3 separate regions of the Homo sapiens genome follow, and all the other regions are linked to region 1. The links are contacts of gene promoters, found by promoter capture Hi-C in blood cells and fetal thymus (Javierre and others, 2016). All regions are on one chromosome and are shown on one strand. Each heading gives the region's core, a stretch centred on a gene start or on the middle of the fragment in contact. The rest is flanking DNA. Distances are from core to core; before and after follow the strand shown.

Evidence for each region. The method cuts DNA at HindIII sites, captures the fragments that hold promoters and counts their contacts. A CHiCAGO score of 5 or more calls a contact.
Region 2: a contact is called between a fragment that was not itself captured here and the fragment with the promoter of HINT2 in region 1, in 6 of 17 cell types (fetal thymus, naive B cells, total CD8 T cells and 3 more). The highest score is 7.4, in fetal thymus.
Region 3: a contact is called between a fragment that was not itself captured here and the fragment with the promoter of HINT2 in region 1, in 1 of 17 cell types (fetal thymus). The highest score is 5.4, in fetal thymus.

What each region holds. Positions count from the first base shown.
Region 1 is chr9:35,812,162-35,817,061 of GRCh38, forward strand. It overlaps HINT2 (histidine triad nucleotide binding protein 2), which reads right to left and starts at 2,881. Exons shown (of 5, transcript NM_032593.3): 1 at 2,738-2,881; 2 at 1,483-1,623; 3 at 1,284-1,388; 4 at 1,105-1,177; 5 at 799-984. The coding sequence starts at 2,818. The coding sequence ends at 893. It overlaps SPAG8 (sperm associated antigen 8), which reads right to left and starts at 101. Exons shown (of 7, transcript NM_001039592.2): 1 at 1-101. It overlaps FAM221B (family with sequence similarity 221 member B), which reads right to left. Exons shown (of 7, transcript NM_001012446.4): 7 at 4,230-4,900. RefSeq lists enhancers at 1-175, 3,074-3,253 and silencers at 2,694-3,013, 3,344-3,523. The HindIII fragment of the contact is 5,278 bases long and covers 619-4,900 here.
Region 2 is chr9:35,599,292-35,604,191 of GRCh38, forward strand. No RefSeq gene overlaps it. Among named protein-coding and RNA genes, the nearest start is that of TESK1, 3.5 kb to the right of the region's middle. RefSeq lists silencers at 1-15, 585-704 and an enhancer at 1-395. The HindIII fragment of the contact is 3,614 bases long and covers 1,012-4,625 here.
Region 3 is chr9:35,618,830-35,623,729 of GRCh38, forward strand. LOC124902148 (a long non-coding RNA gene) reads left to right here and starts at 2,092. Exons shown (of 2, transcript XR_007061470.1): 1 at 2,092-2,180; 2 at 2,829-3,152. It also overlaps a transcript of CD72 not described here. The HindIII fragment of the contact is 3,138 bases long and covers 1,415-4,552 here.

The DNA.
Region 1 (4,900 bases), core at 1,631-4,130:
TACTGGGTTGCCATAGAGACAGCAAACAACTCCTGGAGCCTGCGCAGAAGTACAGCTGGGCGGACTTGCAGGTGGCGGTGGAGGCAAGTCCTCTGCGGGGCGGAAGTCTTCAGCCTAGTGCTGTTAGGGAGGTCCGCTTTCCGGTCCCGGCGGCATTCCGCCTCAGACGGGGTTTTAGGGTTCCGCTGGCTTAAGACCTCGCCCTCCACGTCCAAACAGTCTTTGCGTGCGGTTTTCTAAGATGATGCTTTATGGGGATATGTTGGAAACAGGCACAGGGTTGTGGCATTAGATTACAGCCTACTTGGTGTTTGCTGAGAGGCAAGTAGCTTCCCCTTAGTTTGCTTAGTTCATTCTCAAAAGTGAGTGGGGTCTTTAACAAATGTTAAGGATGAAAATAAACAAACTAGCTTGAGCAAAATGGTGAGACGTAGAATAGTGAAAAGGCAGCCGCTTTTGTTTGGGTGTGATTACTCCTCCTCTAATAAAAGACCCTCATATTGACCACCCTCCTCCTAAGCGCCCTTAGAACCTGGTTTGACCTCTGAAGAAGGGCCAGGATTGGCTTTCAGTTTCTTCCTACTCATTTAGGCTCATTCCTACTGTTACTTTTCTAGAAGCTTGACCTAGGGTGGACCACTTGTCAAGAAGACTTACATATCTGCAGGCAACATTTAACCACAGGTTGGACCTCCTCAGTGTCTTTCACTCAGACCAGTCAAGGGGCATCATAGCCCTGAATCAGTTTTCTTTCCCCTTTGTGGTATAAAATTTTATATTAAAGACAGGAGAGCATAATTAAGGGAGAACAGTTTTATTAGCATCACAGGGTCCATTTTTCCCTTTCCATCCAAGCATCCAGAGTCTGGTGTCCTTTAATCAGTTGGCAGGTTCAACCTGGAGGCCACTGGAGCTGCCGGCCCCCAAGTACATGAATGTGCAGATGATACACAGATTGTGCACCCAGCTTCCCATCGTTGATCACTGAAATTGAGCTTGGGGTTAGGGAGTCAGGATCATGGCAGAGGTCGAAGAATGAAGATCATATTGAGAAGTAGGAATGAGAATTCATAGGTGAGGGACCAAGGGCCAAAAGTCACTCACCAAGTCGGTATCCATCTCCCAGGCCCTCAGCCTTTGCTGTCTGCTTGGCCACAAGGAGTAGGTGTCCTAGAAGCTATAGAGAGAGCGGAGGGACATAGGTGGCTTCATTCATAGGGAGCAAGACCTCTAGCTGGGTCCAGGGGCTCCTCCCAGCCAAACCCTGGCCCTGTTCTTCCCACCTGCTGGTCTTCTTCTTCAGCCTGGCTAATCCGAGGAATGGGCTTCTTAGGAATGACCAGGAAGTGCACAGGAGCCTGAGGGGCCACATCACGGAACACAAGACACTGGGGGAAGTGACAGGCCAGAGGCCACGTTACTTCAACAGGTTGGATGGTATCTACAACATTCCTAAGGGGATAGGTCCTAAGAGCACCCCACCTGCTGGTCCTCATAGAGAATGTCAGCTGGGAGGCTCTTGTCCAGGATCCGGGAGAAGATGGTTGGGGCTGCTCCCCCAGGAGTTGCCTGCTGGGCCTTGGCCACTTCATTCCCATCAGTCACACCTGCAGCTCCTCGGACCTGAAGGTGGATCGACCATATTCAAAGGAGGGAGCTGGCAGAAGCTGGGCTCTGATAGTTGTTAATTTCGTCCTTCTAATAACCTATTCATCGTTCCCACCCAGGAGGAAAGTTCCTGAATTTCAGAGCACCAGCAGCAAAGGGTAGGGCCAGAAGGTGCTGGACCTGGTTAGATAACAGGCGGTATTATTATCAGGATTCAGCAGTGCAATTGATTCCTGCTCATGTGTCCACGAAATATAGCACTGTTTAGGGAAAGGATCTAGAATGAGAGACTGGGGATTTTGGTCTCAGTTCCTACCTTACCATACCACTGAATTACCTCAGATAAATTCCTTCTCTCAGCTTCTAATATAAAATAAAGGGATGGTTTCCATAATCTCTTGCGATGGCTTGAATCTCTTTCCACTCTCACCTTGTTAGTACATTTCCACTTATTTCCGTTACTTGTTTTCTGATCTTTAAGCCTTGTCGCCTGTTTTATTTAAGTTTTAATGCAATCGCCCTGTTTGACACTAGTTGACCCCTCATCTGGGTGTCACATGTGACTCTGTGAATTTTAACTCTTGTCCCTTGAATGAGTGGAGGTAAGAGTTCAGCTAAGTGACCTCTGCTCCCCTAGCCCCAGGGAACTTCGGGTAAGGGATTCAGAGAAGGCTGATGTCATTGCATCACGTTGGGGGAGAACGGGACGGAATGAATTCTCTGACCTCCGAGCCGCTTCTGGCAAGTGCAGAAGAGAGGTTAACACTAGTGCTCATTAGGAGGCCAGAAGCCTGAGGAGGGCAGAGCACTGGCTCCAAGAAGAGAAAGCTCATTTCCTGCAGGGGGCATCGGGCCAGCTGGGCTGCAGGCAGTGGAAAGAAGGCGGCAGCCGCTGCACTGACCCTGTCCCGACCTCGGCGCCCCGGCCTGCGCAGGGCGGGAATCAGCACCAGCTCGTTCTCCGGAGCCACCAGTTCGACCTCACCACACAGCCCCGGAGCTTGTGCCTCGGAGGGGCAGAGGCCACAGGCAGGAGCTCTGCGCGGCTCTGCGCGCCTTCGGGACCCCCTGGCCCCGGATGGCTTCGGAGCCCGCAGGACCCCCTACTCGCTCCCGCGCCACTTCTCACCTGCCCCCCGCGCACCCCCGTGGCCGCCACGGCTCTGCGCGCCGCGCGCAACCCAGCAGCCAGCACCACGGCTGCCGCCATCTTCCCTGAGCCGCGGGAACCTCTCACCCGGGTCAGCACTCGGCTCCGCGGCCGGCCGTGGGTGGGGACTCCGGGCGCGGGGAAGCGGGGTAGTGGCGGCCGGGCGAGCCCTGCTACCCCATTGGAGCGCGCCTCTGAGCACGATTCACCCCATTGCCTCTGCAGCCACTTTGGAGGCGGGCTCTTTTCATCTCATTGGCTGCTTCTACCAACGCGAGGACAATTTTCCATTCCATTGGTTTCGTCTTCTAGTCCGTGTGAACGTTCTTTTCCCATTGGATCCCCTTACTAGTTTCTCTGTGAGAGAAACTTCCACTCCATTGGAAGGATTAATGGAGCCTGGAGGTGGGATTTTCTCCTAGTTGAATCTGATACACAACTCTGGCTTCTAGGTTGCGGCTCCCGAGTGGGTGGTTCTTTTCGTTCTTGGTTCGTCCTCTTCAGGTCTGGTTCCTATTGGTGCGCGGGGAGAAGGGGGCGGGGCTCCGCCACCTGCTGCAGAAAGGGCTGTTTTAGACCCTCTCACCGCTTTGGCCAGGAGGAGGGCGGGGCTCTGAGGGCATCCGGCGCTTATTGGCTCCAAGAACCACCCGGGGTGGGGCTAAAGGTGAACGGGGATGAGGTGTGTTTTTTTGTGTTTGTTTGTTTGTTTTAACTGGCGGGGCTGATGCGCAGCATTTTCTCCACAAGGGCAGTTTCAGTCCCTTGAGCATTTTGGAGATTTTAATGTACTTATCTAAGGGAAATTCTTCCTTAATTCTATGTTCTTGTTAACGCATTCACTCCATAGATTAAAAAGTCTGTGGTTTTTGCATTTTTTTTTTTTGAGCAGGAGGAGATAAGAGTGTCCTATATTTGCCGCACAAGAATTATAATAAGCAAAGGAGTATGTATTCATTGTTCTTTTCTAATCGGAAAAGGTGTGTGATACAGTTAGCTCGGTGCCTGGTGTTTTCTTTTTTTTTCTTTTTTTCTTTTTTCTTTTTTTTTTTTTTTGAGACGGAGTCTCGCTCTGTCGCCCAGGCTGGAGTGCAGTGGCGCGATCTCGGCTCACTGCAAGCTCCGCCTCCCGAGTTCACGCCATTCTCCTGCCTCAGCCTCCCGAGTAGCTGGGACTACAGGCACCCGCCACCACGCCCGGCTAATTTTTTGTATTTTTATTAGAGACGGGGTTTCACCGTGTTAGCCAGGATGGTCTCGATCTCCTGACCTCGTGATCCTCCTGCCTCGGCCTCCCAAGGTGCTGGGATTACAGGTATGAGGCACCAATAAGTCAGGTTTGCACTGCTGGAATATATATTTTTGACATAAGAAACGTGGGGTCACAAAATACTAATATTCTCAGACGCTAGGTAAGTTTTAGTCTGATATCACATAGGACAAGTTACCACTGTTTCTTTGGTTTTTCTTTTTTTCTTTTTTTTTTTTTTAAACACATGACCTGATACATATAGGTGGTCAGTAATTGTTGAATGAATAACATTTGGTGTTTCCTGTCTTTTTTTCATAATATGTAATATGTATTGCATATGATACTAACCCATGTGTAATCAATTTTTCATATTTTTACAGTCTACGTAAATATAGTTTGTATTGGCTGCTTATTATTTCCTTCAATGAGTTTATCATAGTAATCCTAACTCTATTGTTGACTATTAGTTGAATTAGTTTTAGGTGAATGGTTATCATGGGGCATATAACCACTGTTGGGGAACTTTGCTTCTAGAGATATAACAATCTCTTTTGTATAGCTATATTATTGTTAGAAAATCCTTTCTCCTCTAAAGGGCAGACATTTGATTCTGTGATTTTCCCCAGGGATCCTAGCAGTCCAGATTGCATTCCTTCCCTTGGAGGAACAGATGGCCCCCCTAATTGTGAGGAAATGTAGAATGGCCTCTTCTCTGGGCCCCAGAGGCTGCAGTTCTCTGTGGTGCCTCTGGGACACTGGGAGACCCTAGAGTTGCCCTGGAGAAGGGCGAGAGATAAGTGGATCTGGGATCTAGGAAGAGGAAGGAAGCCAGTCTGGAGGATAGGTGGATACAAAGCACTTTGAAATTAGTTATTTCTTTGGTTCTCATA
Region 2 (4,900 bases), core at 1,569-4,068, 210 kb before region 1:
CAGTCCCCTGCTGCTTTGGTCCCCTACAGATTTTGGGTGCCAATGAGCATAGGAGGGAAGCCAAGTGGGGTCTGAAGGCAGCTCAGCACTGGCCTGCAGGCGCCTCTTGGCACCTACAGCCTGGGCACCATGAATGGCAGCAGGAGGCAGACAGGCTTCTGAGCGGATGGGGCAGGTCCCTGGTAAGGCCCCACTTTCAGGCCAGGGAGGGCCTGAAGGCTGGGGACCGGGCTGCCCATCACACTATGGGAGTGGGAACTTGTGGTGACACTTCCAGGCCCACCCATGGCTGCCCAGGACCAACTGGCATGCACTTCCTCCCCTCTAAGGCCCATAAAAGCCCAGGCTCTGAGCAGACGTCAGGACAATCAGCTGCAGAGAGGAGCTACCCACACCAAGGCCTCCTCTCTGTGAGAGCCGCAGATGTTGGGACAACCAGCTGCAGAGAGGAGCAACCAACTTTGGGGCCTCCTCTCTGCTGAGAGCTGCAGAGACTACAGGATGACATACCTGCAGAGAGAAGCCACCCACTCTAGGGCCTCCCCTCTGCTGAGAGCTGCACAGATGACAGGACAACCAGCTGCAGAGAGACGCTACCCTCCCTGCTGATAGCTGAACACTTGTCAGGACGACTTGCCTAGCAGAGAGGAGCTACCCTCTCTGCTAGGAGCTGAACATGCCTCAGGACACCCCTGCTAGGGAAAGGAGCTGCCCCCTGCAGGTTTCTTTTGAGCTGTTCTATTGCTCAATAAAGCTACTCTTTGTCTTGCTCACTCTTCACTTGTCTGCGTACCTCATTCTTCCTGTCGCAGGACAAGAACTCAGGACCCACCAAATGGTGAGGCTAAAAGAGCTGTAACAAACGGGGGTGAGACATGACCCTTGCTTGCCACGTTGTGGGTGAAGGCAAGGAAAGAAGAACTGCAGCCCTTCGGGGAGCCTAGCCCTGGGAGCTCCCCAAGCCAGGGCTGTGACTTCCTCTTTGAGGACCTGCTGTTCCTGGCATCTCCAAGCTTCCAGGCACCAATGTGTCCCCCAGTGCCAGCTGTGGAAGCTGCTTGCCATGTGCCTGGTCCGGCCGCAGGCTTGCAGGGAAATGGTGCCATGCTGGCACCTGGAACTGCCCGCCCCACTGCAGCACCCGGAATGTCTGACTGTGCACAGTGGCTGGACCCAATGCTCACTCACATACCCCTAACTGTTCCACGCCTGTCTCACCCTTGGCAGGCATGGGACCCAGGCTGGTAGCGTGAGCCAAGCACAGGCTGCCAGGCTGGGTAGGCGAAACAAGCCCAGAGGGCCTGAGCAAAACTGGGGCAAAAGCACCACCAGCCACAGAGGTTTCTGGCCAGAAAAAGGACGCCCCAAAGATCCCGTAACAATAGGACAAGCACCAAAAATGATAACTGGGCGCAGTGGCTCACGCCTGTAATCCCAGCACTTTGGGAGGCCAAGGCAGGAGGATCACCTGAGGTCAGGAGTTTGAGACCAGCCTGGCCAACATGGTGAAACTCTGTCTCTACTAAAAATACAAAAATCAGCCGGGCGTGGTGACAGGTGTCTGTAATCCCAGCTACTCAGGAGGCTGAGACAGGGGAATCGCTTGAACCTGGGAAGCGGAGTTTGCAGTGAGCCGAGATCACACCACTGCACTCTAGCCTGGGTGACAGAGCAAGACTCCATCTCAATCAATCAATCAATCAATAACTGGGCTGGGTGCAGTGGCTCATGTCTGTAATCCCAGCACTTTGGGAGGCCAAGGCAGGAGGATCACTTGAGGCCAGGAGTTTGAGACCAGCCTGGGCAAAACATGGTGAGACCCTGTCTCTACAAAAAAATTAAAAATTAGCCAGGTGTGATGGCACGTGCTTGTAGTCCCAGTTACTTGGGAGGCTGAGATGAGAGAATCACTTGAGCCCGGGAGGTCAAGGTTGCAGTGAGCTTTGTGCCACTGCACTCCAGCCTGAAAAAGAGTGAGACCCGTCTCAAAAAGAAAAAAAAGATAACTAGCAATAATTGAGTATATCACATATGTGTTAAATTATGAGTTCATAATGGTACTTTAAAAAAAACCTCATCGGTCAACTTTGGAAGATGCTGGGGAACCAACTCATTACTTTGAAAGCTGGTAAAATAAGTGAGAAACAATCAAGTATTTATTCTGCCTTTCCTAGGAAATGTATCTCTGTGTAACAAATAGTTAATGTGGAAAAGTTTCTCCTTATAGAATTATTCTACCTAATACTTCTATAGGAATTCATTCAAAGAAGGAATGATAATATTATTTTCTAACTTTTTATTTATTTTGAGACAGGGTCTTGCTATGATGCCCAGGCTGGACTCGAACTCCTGGGCTCAAGCAACCCTCTCGGCTCAACTTCCCATGTAGTTGGGACTATAGTCGCGTGCCACCATGCCCAGCTTTAACTCCTCTATTAATGAACCTAGACCAGTGGTTCTTATTCAGGGTCAATTTTGTCCCCCAGAGGACAAATGGCAATGTCTAGACACATTTTTTTATTGTTACAGTCAGGAGGAGGTGCTACTGGCATCCATTAGGTAGAGGCCAGAGATGCTGCTAAGCATCCTACAATACACAGGACAGCCCCTACAATAAAGAATTTTCCAGCCCAAAATGTCAATAGTGCCACGGTTGAGAAACAAATATCAGTTATTAAAATCACAAAAAGACCACCACTGTATACCTCCTGTATACCTCCTGATAGAAGTGCTAAAACCATCTACAAATTAGTTTTGCCAAAAGAAATCTAAATTTGATTAAGTTACCAATTTATATCAAATACAGAGGATGGAGGAACATGCTAAATTACCACAGAAATCAAGACTCTAAGAAACTCTACAGGACAAATGAACCAGTTTTAAAAAATAGTAAGAAAAAAGATGGAGAATAAGCATAGATCTGCAAAGACTTAAGAAACATATGGCTGGGTGTGGTGGCTCACACCTATAATCCCAGCACTTTGGGAGGCCAAGGCGAATGGAATGCTTGAGCCCAGGAGTTGAGACCAGCCTGGGCAACGTGGCAAACCCCATCTCTACAAAAATACAAAAATTAGACAGGTGTGGTGGTACCCACACCTCAGTAGTCCCAGCCACTCAGAAGGCTGAGGCAGGATTGCTTGAGCCTCGGGGGTGGAGGTTGCTGTGAGCCGAGATCAACCCACTGCACTCCATCCTGGGTGATAGAGCCAGACCCTGTCTCACAAAAAGAGAGACAGACAGACAGACATATCACCTGCAAAGTACAGACCTAATTTAGATTTTGATTCAAATAAACAATTTTTAAAAATCAAACGTAAGACAGTGAGGGAAATGTAAACAACTGGATGCTTGATGACATGAAGGAACTATTGTTTTTTTTTGGTGTGACAATACTGTGATTTGGTTTTAAAGAAGAATCCTTATCATTTAGAGATAACGTACTGAAACATTTACAGGATGAAATGATATGTCAGAAATATACACAAATATGGAGTGGGGAAGAGGGCACGGGTATAGATGAAACAAGATTGGCCATGAATTGCTCATTGGAGAATCACTGACATAGAAGGGTAAATGAAAGTAGGTACTTTCACCTGGGCCAGGTCAAATATGGCAACAGTACAACTGAGGCAAAGGAAAGCCAATTTTGCACTATGGGTTTCCAACAAAATGGTCTTACTAATCCAAGGTAAATAAACATTCATTTTTCTATTCTGTGTGTGTGTGTTAAGACATTTTCCACCATACAAACAACAACAAAAGGTTTTTTTGAGACAGAGTCCCGCTCTTGTCGCCTAGACAGGAGTGTAATGGCGCGATCTTGGCTCACTGCAACCTCCGCCTCCCGGGTTCAAGCGATTCACCTGCCTCAGATTCCAGAGTAGCTGGAATTACAGGCGCTCGCCACATCAGGCTAATTTTTTTGTATTTTTAGTAGAGACGGGGTTTCACTACGTTGGCCAGGCTGGTCTCATCCTTTCCTGATTGAACCACAGTCACAGCCTCCTTCCTAATCAGTCTCCCGGCCTCCATACAACCACCGCAATCATCTTACAAAAAATAGGCACCTGGCTCTTTGGCTTGGCATTACCATCACCAACTACTACAGTAATTCTCAAACGTGATAAAGGGCCAGAACCCAGTGTCGGTTAAAAGATCTATGATATTAAACAAAATGAGGCATAAATTCCTAGTGTTTACAGATGTCATACAATAAAAAGCAAATTCACAAATTAGTTGTAGATGTTAACATTAATGTGATGAATGAGCGTGTGCTGAAGACCAAACGCCTCCAGAAAAAAGAACAGGATGCACGTGCCCCGTGCAATTCTGTGAGGTTGGCCTGCCTCCACCGGCTGTGGAAGGATTGCGAATGTCTCCCATTCCTCTCGCTCCAAACTTGTGCAATACCTTCCCTTGTACAGCGCACCAAGACAGCATCTGGCCTTCTCTTGACTCTAAGGCATCATGTATCATTTATGACCGTCTTTATTCTTTTCTCAGTAGCCCTCGACAAGCGAGTAGTATTTCTTGGCTCCAAGTCTCATAAACGTGTAACCAGACTCCATTGGAAGACGGTAACCCCACGCGATACGGACTGTGCTTGTATTAATTCTCTTTTAAGCTTACTACAGAAATATCAATACAGTACTTGAGAATTCCTGCAGGACTCAGCCTCGCTTCCTCGAGGAGCTCTCAGCCTGCCTCCGCACTCGAGACGGCAGCTTTCTCTCCCTCCGCCCACCGTTCCGCCGCTAGGTGGCAGGCGGCTCAACGACGCCCTTTTAAACCGTTTGCCCCGGAGTGGACCGCCGGGATCGCGTGTCACCACCCAACCCTAGCGATGATTGGCTATTTCGCCGAGGCCGGAGGAGGAACCAGCGGCAGAACCGGAAGC
Region 3 (4,900 bases), core at 1,734-4,233, 190 kb before region 1:
CTGGGGGTTCCAGTAACTGGGGGTTCAGGAACAGGCCTGGGCCAGAGGTGAAGGTAAGGAAGAGCCATGGCTGCAGCACCTCTGGAAAGGCAAGTGGCAGCACTGCCCCCCATGCACCCTCATGGGGAGCCAGGGAGCAGGTGAGCAAGGGAGTTGCAGAGGGCTTAAGAAGGCTGCAGCTTCCTAGGTGAAGTCAAGGCAGAGGAGCAGAACAGAGCCAGAGGCCGAGCGCAGATTCCGGACCAGCGGAGGTCTTGACATTTTCTTGGTTTGGTTTTGGTTCGTCTCTTACTTTCCTAGCAAAGTTCTTTCTTTAAAAAGTCCCAAAGCTGTCCCTTCCCACCCAGCCCCAAGGAAAAAGGGGGCATTTGTGGCGGAGGACCCAGGGACCGCGAGGCCCTCATAGGTGGTGGGGGCCTGGCTGATGGAGGAGAGAGGGAACCAGTTGGGGGAAAGGGGGCTGCTGAGCAGGGGTGCCCAAAGGTGCTCCCTAATGTTCTTTTACCGGGATGTGACCCCTACTAGGAACCCCAAAATGGCCTACATCCGGGATAGGAAGGAGCTAGAACAAGATGTAGTGTGGGGGTGGGAAGAACCCGCCCCTAGCAAAGTGACATCCGCCCCGCAGAATCCCCCTCCTGCAGCTGTGGGGAGGAAAAAGGAAGGGGGAAAAGGTCCTCACCACATGCCAACAGCTCGGATGATTGGTGGTGTGTGGCAGGACACTGCCAGGGACCCTAGAGCTCTGCCAATAGCTCCGCCCAGCCAGCCCTAGAGGAAGTGGCCACTGAGGCAAAGCTGTGACCTCAAAAATGTACTTGTAGAGAGGCACGTGTGCATGTGTGTGCATGGATATGCATGTTCCCAGGACTTTGCAGTCTGTTAGGGCATCTGTGAGGTGAGCGGCTATGTCAGAGCCTGCCTGGAGGAGGAAGCCTTCTGTGGGCTGAAGGCTGCCTGTGATCACTGTTATTTTCCATGGCAGAGAATGACGGGTCATTTTCAGAAAAGTCGTCAAAGGTCATCACAAGAGATCCTACAAGTATTTCCTTTTTGAAGCTCACTGTTTCCTAAGGTGCCTCTGCAGCTGTTAACTGTCCTTGCTTGATTAAAGTTTCCAACAACCTAGACCTTCCCCCAGATACAGAGAGTGGTATGTGGTGGTGACTCCCTGGGGACCTCAGGGGCCCTGAGAGTGAGTGGGAGGGTATAGAGCAGCTGGTGGCAGGGGTGGGTGGGGTGGGAAGAGTCAAATACTTGAACCTGTGGTGTACAGGGGGTGGGTGTGGGCAGTGTGTGAGTAAATCAATTGCAGGAACATTTGCAGGAGTTCCACAAACTGTAGAATGTCCCAGTTTTCAGATCCAATACACAGGTGAACATGATGTAGATGCCAGGTAAAATGCCAAAACCAAGCTTCTAGTCTGCACTCAAAAAGGTGTCTGTGGCCAACATAGTGAAACCCCGTCTCTACTACAAAATACAAAAAAATTAGCCTGGTGTGGTGGCTCGAACCTGTAGTCCCAGCTACTCAGGAGGCTGAGGCAGGAGAATCGCTTGAACCCAGGAGGTGGAGGTTGCAGTGAGCCAAGATCACACCATTGCACTCCAGCCTAGGCAACAAGAGCAAAGCTCCATCTCCAAAAAAAAAAAAAAAAATGGAATACATGGGCTTGCTGCCTAACTTGACCTGTAGAGAGGCTTAAGAAGGGGATCTCCTGGCCGGCATGGTGGCTCACACCTGTAATCCCAGCACTTTGGGAGGCTGAGGTGGGCGGATCACCTGAGGTCAGGAATTTGAGACTAGCCTGGCAAACATGGTGAAATCCCATCTGTATTAAAAATACAAAATTAGCTGAGAATGGTGGCATGTGCCTGTAATTCCAGCTACTAGGGAGGCTGAGAATTGCTTGAACCCGGGAGGCAGAGGTTGCAGTGAGCCGAGATTGTGCCCATCCTGGGCCACAGAGTGAGACTCTGTCTCCAAAAATAAAAAAAAATAAAAAAAAGAAGGGGATCCCCAGATGGAACTGCACACCGCAATATCTTGAATGTCTTAACCAGGCTTGTTCTATATTTTTCTCCTCTTTAGCTCTTTTGGTGATGGTTACATATCTTTTCATCACAGGCCGCATTCGCTTCTGTCTTAGACCAGCTTGTAGCCTTCCTTTGTGAACAGGGTAAGAGAGTAGGATCCTTCCCCTTCCCCACGTGTGTCACTTGGGGTCTTTACAGTTTTGACATTCACATTACATTTAGAGGCTGGACATCAGAAAAGATACCTGTAACTCCAAGCTGTACCTCTACTGCCCAAATATCAGGGAACTTTTAAGAGGTGAGGGGTCAGTGCTGTACATTTCAGCTTTTCCAGAACCATACTATCATCATCTGAGAGCCTGGAGGGCAGACACTAACACCCATGTTTTGCCCTCTCCTGGCCTCCCCACTACTCATTACAGGGAATGGGTGTTTACGGTTGACAAGAGGAGGGGGCCCAACCATGAGGGCATCAGATAGAATTTGCCATGTGGAAGGGGGCTCACCTGATCAACTTTGTGTCATTGATACAGTCTATGTCAGGACATCGGGAGCATCTCCTAAGACTCTGAAAGTCAGGCTATATCTGTCTTCATTACTTTAACCCACTGGCCTCCGGGAAGCCCTAGTTTACTGACAGGGTGTGGTAGCCAGAATAATGGCCTCCCAAAAATGTTCACACCCGAATCCCCAGAACCTGTGACTATGTCACTTTACCTGACAAAATGTAGATGTGGCTATGTTAATCAAGGTCCTTTAGATAGAGAGATTATCCTGTTTTATCTTGGTAGGCACACTCTGATCACATGAGTCCTTGAAAGGGAGAACCTTTCCCATCATGGGAAGAAAGAGATTCGGTGAGGGAAGGAGGGCCAGAGAGACGCCACAGGAGAAACACTCAACCCATAGGTCCTGATTTTGAAGGTGCAGGAAGAGGACCTTGAGCCAAGGAATGCAAGAAGCCTCTGAGAGCTGGAAAAGGCAAGGAAGCAGATTTTCCCCTTCAGCATCCAGAAAGGAACCAGCCCTGCAGACACCTTGACTTTAGCCCAGTGAGACCTGTGTCGACCTGATCTCCACAACTGTAAGACAATAAATTTGTATTGTTTAAGCCACCAAGTGTGTAATTTATTAGAGCAGCAAGAGTTTCGTGAACTGTGGAGGAAGCATGATGTAATAGAAAGAATAGGGAGACTCTGGTTAAAGAGACCAGCCTTGCCACAGTATGTGACTTTGGGCAAGTGACAGTTTTCCATCTGTAAAATACAAGATAGTCTGACCTCAATCAAGAGTATGATTGCTGGAGACACACTAGGTGTGGACTTTACAAACGCCTCTTTAAAATCTGTCACAAAGGCTTCAGAGTCAGGAGGGAGAAAAATGGGCCACCTGATTGCACCATGAGGGAGACTTGGATTTCTTTGATCACTGAAGCCAAAGAGTACAGATAGGTCTTCGGTGACTTGCCCCAGGCCTCTCCTTGGTCCTGCCTCAAATGGTGACACAGAAAGCACGTTCTCTGTGCTTAATGGCACAGAGCTGAAAAGCAAATACATCAAAAGGCCAACTCAAGATTCAAGCCTTGCAACAAGGCAAAATGATGGCTCCAAACCACAGAATGAAATGTCATAAAAATAATAACAGCAGGCCAGGCACGATGGCTCACGCCTGTTATCCCTTGGGAAGCCAAGGTGCACAGATCACAAGGTCAGAATTTCGAGACCAGCCTGGCCAATATGGTGAAACCCCGTCTCTACTAATAATACAAAAATTAGCCGGGCATGGCGGCGCACACCTGTAGTCCCAGCTACCCAGGAGGCTGAAGCAAAAGAATCGCTTAAACCCGGGAGGCAGAGGTTGCAGTGAGCCAAGGTGGTGCCACTGCACTCCAGCCTGGGTGACAGAGCGAGACTCTGTCTCAAAAAAAATAATAATAATAATAATAATAATAACAGCAAAGTCAGGCACAATGGCTCATGCCTATAATCCCAAGACTTTGGGAAGCTGAGGTGGGAGGATCACTTGGGCCTAGGAATTCGAGACCAGACTGGCCAACACAGCGAGACTCCATCTCTACAAAAAATTTAAAAATTAGGCAGGTGTGATGGCACATGCTTATGGTCTCAGCTTCTTGGGAGGCTGAGTGGGGAGGATTGTTTGAGCCCAGGAGGGCGAGGCTGCTGTCAGCCATGTTTGTGCCACTGCACTCTGGCCTGGGCAGCAGTGAAACCCTCCCTCAAAAAATAAATGAATCAAAATTAAAATAAAAAAAAGATAATACAGCAAGCATTTATTGAAAAATGAAATTTGGAATTCAAAAAATAAATTGCATAAGCATAGGATGGAGGGAGTCCTGGGTTAACAATTGTTTATGTAACAAAGTTTGAGGAGAAAGGCAGTTATTATTTTACACTTGAAGGGATCTTAGAGAGCCCAGCCTGCTTATTTTACAAATTGGGAAACTGGACTCAGCAGGCTGTAAGCGCCTTATAAACTGACCCAGTGACTGGAAAGAAGCTTGTGACAAAAGGCTGCCACATAGAACTGTAGCCCCCTTACCAAATACATCTAACATTGTGCCAGCCACACCTATAGCCCTTTTTTTTTGTTTTGTTTTTTACTTTGTGTTTTTTATCCCATACTTAAATACTACCTATAGCCCTTTTTAAGCAGGCAAACCCCTGCTGATGAGGCAGCCCTAGTCCCCAGAAATTGTGTCTTGTGACCTCCAACCCCTTTGACCTCAGCTGATTAAAATTAGCAAGCGAGGCCTGGCGCAGTGGCTCACACCTATAATCCCAGCTCTTTGGGAGGCCGAGGCAGGCGGATCACCTGAGGTCAGGAGTTCAAGACCAGCCTGGCC